2 separate regions of the Homo sapiens genome follow, and region 1 is linked to region 2. The links are contacts of gene promoters, found by promoter capture Hi-C in human tissues and cell types (Jung and others, 2019). All regions are on one chromosome and are shown on one strand. The core of a region is centred on a gene start or on the middle of the fragment in contact, and the rest is flanking DNA. Distances in the headings are between cores, read along the strand shown. Region 1 has its middle 55 kb from the start of LINC00682. Region 2 holds the start of PHOX2B (paired like homeobox 2B).

What was found. Contacts are between HindIII fragments. The study calls those that stand out against the background at their distance.
Region 1: a fragment that was not itself captured here is called in contact with the fragment with the promoter of PHOX2B in region 2 in 4 of the 25 tissues and cell types used here (H1 embryonic stem cells, heart left ventricle, mesenchymal stem cells and 1 more).

What each region holds. Positions count from the first base shown.
Region 1 is chr4:41,826,290-41,828,989 of GRCh38, forward strand. No RefSeq gene overlaps it. Among named protein-coding and RNA genes, the nearest start is that of LINC00682, 55 kb to the right of the region's middle. The HindIII fragment of the contact is 4,364 bases long and covers 1-2,700 here.
Region 2 is chr4:41,747,328-41,750,102 of GRCh38, forward strand. PHOX2B (paired like homeobox 2B) reads right to left here and starts at 1,398. Exons shown (of 3, transcript NM_003924.4): 1 at 1,043-1,398; 2 at 22-209. The coding sequence starts at 1,283. PHOX2B-AS1 (PHOX2B antisense RNA 1) reads left to right here and starts at 1,022. Exons shown (of 4, transcript NR_187403.1): 1 at 1,022-1,259. The HindIII fragment of the contact is 4,691 bases long and covers 1-2,475 here.

The DNA of each region.
Region 1 (2,700 bases), core at 78-2,577, 79 kb after region 2:
GCCCTATTAAACTTCAAATGTGTCATGAATCTGTTCCCCTCTCTTATCTCTACAGCAATCACCTTCCCCAAGTTACTGCAATAAACTTTCTAAACTTGTCTCTCCACTTACATCCTCAGTCTTTGGGTTCCCTATTAATCTATTGTTTCTCACTTTCTATGTCTAATTTGTTTGCTAGGGCTAGGGCTCTGCAAACTGCATTTCTGCTTTGCCGTTGTACTAGTAGGGGGCTCCAAAGGGAGCCGTGAAGGAAGAAGATGGGAAGAGCCTTACTCCTCGCTGCTTGCTTGCTGCTCCTGCCAGCATGACCATATGATGAGGGGACCACCAGGAGTGAGGGTTTCAGTAACCATTGGTTCCAGTTTCCAGATTTTTTCCCCACCATCCCAGAACTGGGCTCATTACACTAGCTCAGAGGTACTAGCACTAGCTGGGAATGCCCTGTCTTCAGAGATCTAGGTCCACTTCTGCAGGGCTCCTCTGAACTCTTAAGATACCAACACTAACTTGATGGTGAGTGTCTGTTCTCAGGGTTAGAGTCCCAGCTCCACGAGGCCACCAAGCTTCTAAGTTCTTATAACCCCAACCTCTTTCCTGTGTTCCCTCAACCTTAGTAGTGGTAGTTGTCTCCCAAAGTTACTATGCTGTTAGGAGGGACCTTCAAATAGTTCATGGAAAATGTAATTAAAAGATCAAAATAAAAAATATAAACTTTCTTTCTTAACAAAAGCTTCATCAAGTTCAAGACACTTTTCAAAGCCAAGACACCAGCTACTTAGCCCATTCCTAAGTAACTGAGGGTCCTGGGAATTTAACCATGTCAGTACAGTCTTTTTTACATTACTAATTGAAGAAAAATGGGTGTCCTTTAAAGATTTTTTAAGATTAGGAAACCAAAAGAAGTCAGAAGGAGCCAAATCAGGACTGTAAGTAGGATGCCTAATGATTTCCCATCAAAACTCTCAAAAAAATTGCCTCTGTTTGATGAGAGGAATGAGCAAGAGATTGACATGGTGGAGAAGGATTCCGGTGACGCTTTCCCAGGTGTTTTTCTGCTAAAGCTTTGGCTAACTTCCTCAAAACACTCTCATAATAAGCAGATGTAATTGTTGTTTGGCCCTCCGGAAAGCCAACAAGCAAAATGCCTTGAGCCTCCCAAAAAACTCTTGCCATGACCTTTGCTCTTGACCAGTCCACTTTTGTCCTGATGGGACCACTTCCACCTCTTGGTAGCCATTGCTTTGATTGTGCTTTGTCTTCAGTATCTTACTGGTAGGGCCACGTTTCATCTCCTGTTAGAATTCTTCAAAGAAATGCTTCAGGATCTTGATCCCACTTGTTTAAAATTTTCATTGAAAGCTCTGTTCTTGACTGCAGCTGATCTGGGTGCATTAGTTTTGGCAACCATTGAATGGGAAGTTTACTCAGCTTTAATATTTCAGTCAGAATTGTGTAAGCTGAACAAATTGAGATGTCCATGGTGTTAGCTATTGTTCCTGCTGTTAATCATCAGTCCTCTTCCATTAGGGCACAAACAAGATTAATTTTTTCCTTGTAAATGGATGTCGCTGGTCTGCTGGGAGGGACTTCATCTTCAACATCATCTCATCCCTTCTTAAGAAAAGTTATCGGCCGGGCATGGTGGCTTACTCCTGTAATCCCAGCACTTTGGGAGGCCGAGGAGGGTGGATCATGAGGTCAGGAGTTCAAGACCAGCCTTGCCAACATAGTGAAACCAGATCTCTACTAAAAATAAAATAATTAGCCGGGCGTGGTGGCAGGCGCCTGTAATCCCAGCTACTCGGGAGGCTGAGGGAGGAGAATCGCTTGAATCCGGGAGGCAAAGGTTGCAGTAACCTGAGATCACACCATTGCACTCCAGCCCAGGCAACAGTGTGAGACTCCGTCTCAAAAAAAAAAAAAGTTATCCTCGGCCAGGAGAGGTGGCTCATGCCTGTAATCCCAGCACTTTTGGAGACCGAGGCGAGCTGATCACCTGAGGTTGGGAGTTCATGACTAGCCTGACCAACATGGAGAAACCCCATCTCTACTAAAAAAATACAAAATTAACTGGGCGTGGTGGTGCATGCCTGTAATCCCAGCTCTTCGGGAGGCTGAGACAGGAGAATCGCTTGAACCTGGGAGGTGGAGGTTGCAGTGAGCCGAGATCACCCCACTGCACTCCAGCCTGGGCAACAAGAGCAAAACTCTGTCTCAAAAAAAAAAAAAAAAAAAAAAGTTATCCTCCTTCATATCTGGAGGATATTTTTTAAGTTATCCATTTCAAACGGCTGATATCTTTGGTGTATTGTCCCCATAAACTTTTTATGAAGCATTCGTGATTTCACCATTTTTCCACCCAAGCTTCACCTTACATTTAATGTTTGCTCTTGCTTCAATTTTAGCAGAATTCATGTTGCTCTGATAAGGAATTTTTTTAAACTGATGTCTTATCCTTCTTAATGCCTCAAACTAGATGCTGTTCAGACATAACAAATGAGTATGGATTTTTCTGGTGCAAAAATATTTTGAAATCCAGGCACAGTTTTTTCATAATATGCATTTTTCATAAAGTTGTTGAAGACCCCTCAAATTATCATTATTGCCTCTTTTTTGATCTAATACTTGTACAACCAACTGCTTATATTAAATTCTCACTGTTAAACTTACTGGCGTGGTTTCTGATTTCTTGACTGGATC
Region 2 (2,775 bases), core at 148-2,647:
TCGGTTTCCAGGCGCGCGTACCTGGACTCGCGCCTCTGTGAGGTCGATCTTCAGGGCCAGCTCCTCCCGAGTGTAGATGTCGGGGTAGTGAGTCTCCGCGAAGACCCTTTCCAGCTCTTTGAGCTGGGCACTGGTGAAAGTGGTGCGGATGCGCCGCTGCTTGCGCTTCTCGTTGAGGCCGCCGTGGTCCGTGAAGAGTTTGTAAGGAACTAGAGTATGACAGAGGAGACAGAAAGTGAGCAAATCAGCCGGCAGCTCGCCGGCCGTGGAGCTAGAATGTGAGGACTCCAAGGTCAGGTCATACGGCAGCCGCTACCTACACCCGCGCGAGAGAGTTGCCGAGAGAAGCTGCGGGAAGAAACCGAGGAAATTTGTTATCTGCGGAAACCTGGGCTCAAACTTCGGGCTTGGCGGAGTCCTTTCTGGCACAAGCGCCTTTGGGTGGATTGAAACAGCGCGATGTGACGGACTTGAGATAGTGCTTTCAGCAGGAAAAAACCAGAGAGGAAAAAAATCCAAAAACATCAGTCGGAATATCAGGGAGCCAGGAAAGAAGTTACCAAACAGTCCCACTTTGGGAACTTTTCAATTCTCAGAAAGTTGACCCGGCTCAAAAGTTGGGGGAAAGAGCTGCAAAAAAATAATAATAAATTAAAGAAATAATCATAAAAATGACCAGCCAAAGAGGTGTGAGCCGCTGTCGGTTCTTAAAAAAAGAGACACTGCCAGTAATGAGCTTTACTCTTTGTTATTTAATTATTTTCTAAGCTTTACGTCTCATCGCAAAGTAAATAAATTATGCCTATCATTTTGGCAGCTTAAGATAATTTTGTTGGCGGTTCGGGTGTGACTAGGATAGTGTAACCCTGTAAGTGAATTACCCCTCCCTGCAATCGCTTCTAACGTGATAAATTCTTTCATTTGTGTAAGCAAATTTCGTTTGGTAAATACTAAACACATTTCCATTTTCAAATGCAATCAAGGCTTCCTATATACGGGCGGAAAGGCGGCTTCCTCCGCTGAGAAAGCTGAAGGTCCTTACCTGCGGCGTACGGACTGCTCTGGTGGTCCCTGAGGGTGCCCAGGCTGCAGGATCCCGGCGTGAGGGAAGGGCAGCCGGACGTGGCCCCAAAAGTGGTCCTTATCGGGTTATACTGGAAGCCACTGGCCTGGCTGCAGGAACTGAAGTCAGCATAGGCTGAAGCCAGGCTCGAGGTGTCCATCCCAGCCATACAGGACTCGTAGGCAGAGGAATTGAGGTAAGAATATTCCATTTTATACATTGAAAAGGTTCTGGATGGCTCAGCCAAGTGGAAAAATGAAATAAAAGATGGATATGGAGAAGGTGGCTGGAGTGGGGAGATGTGCACAGCTCAACGCCTGCCTCCAAACTGGCCTCCTTACTACCAGCAGAGCCTAGTTTTATGAAAAAGCCTCCTATGAGATGCCTTGTCTGAGGTCTCTAGAGCATATAGTCCTCATAATAAACTTGGCTCTTTCCACTTGGACAATAGCAAAGCGGTTGGTCTTATTGCTGGCGCTTTTTACATGACAATAACTCATCCGTCTATTGGGCTGGCACTGGGGAACTGAGCTGTCCAACCTCCCTATCATTGATTCCTGCATCTCTAATTAGAATTTAATACCACACCATTACGCACCGAGCCCCTGATCCTCCCTTCTAACCAGCTCCCTGCCCTTTAATTCAATCACACTACTTGGAAATAATGAAAGTTGGGTGACGATTCTCCCTGATCCAATTTCCCCGAGCTTTTAAGCCTTTTTAACTGATCATATACCTTAGGCATAAATTGAGATAGTGTGTGTGTTTTCCCCCTTCTTCGTCCTCTTCTTTTTTTCCCCCTCGGTTAGGGAGAAGAAACCTTGATGTCATAGAAAACCTGTTTTGTAAGAGTGTTACACGCTCAATTTAACAACAAGCCTACCCCCCGAAGTGCATGAAATGTTATAAAGGACTGGGACATTGGCAAGACTCAGGCGCCCTGTAACATAGAGTAAGTGGGCCAAGGGGGTTTATGTGAACGATAAGCGGATTTCTTTAAAAATACACCTGGTAGAGGGGGTTAAAAAAAAGAGAGACAGAGAGAAAGCATCTTATAAATTGCATTTCTTCTTGCAGCTAAATGTGCTTTCAAGAGACTCAGGGTATACAGCCACTTAAAAATAATAATAAAAAAATCTGAGGAAAGCTTTCGAATGTGAAACATCTGGATTCTCGACCGTTGTGTTCTTTGCTCTCAGTTCTGTCTGTTTGCATTAGCGCAAGCCTTGGTTGGTTTGAGTTTCTGTGAGGTTGTTCGTTTTAATTACACCATAACTGGCAAGCGAGCATGAAGTGTACCCAAATGTATCTCCTCTTTCATCTCTTTCGGGCGCTCTCCCTCTTTCTCGCCTCTTTTTTTTTTTCAGGTGCCCACAATCCTCCACAGACCCGGGGATTGTGTCTGTTTGCCTTTTAGGTTTGCGGACTGTAGTGAGGGAAATTCTTGCCATGTAAATGCCCAGGCAAGGGCTCCAGGTCGGGCACCTTTCTTGTCCGATTCCTCAGGCTTTTGGGTGCTGGCAGCGAGGCACAGACAAAGGAGCGAGCAGTGATTTGTGGACTTCAGTGGCCCCATGATTTAAGCGGAGGGTAATTTTCATTTGGTTTGTTAGGCCCTAGCAGAATAAGGGAAACTATTTCATTAAATCCTTCCTCTCGGTGGACAAGAGGGGGAAAGCTTAGCTGAATCGCCGTGTGGTGTAAACAAACCC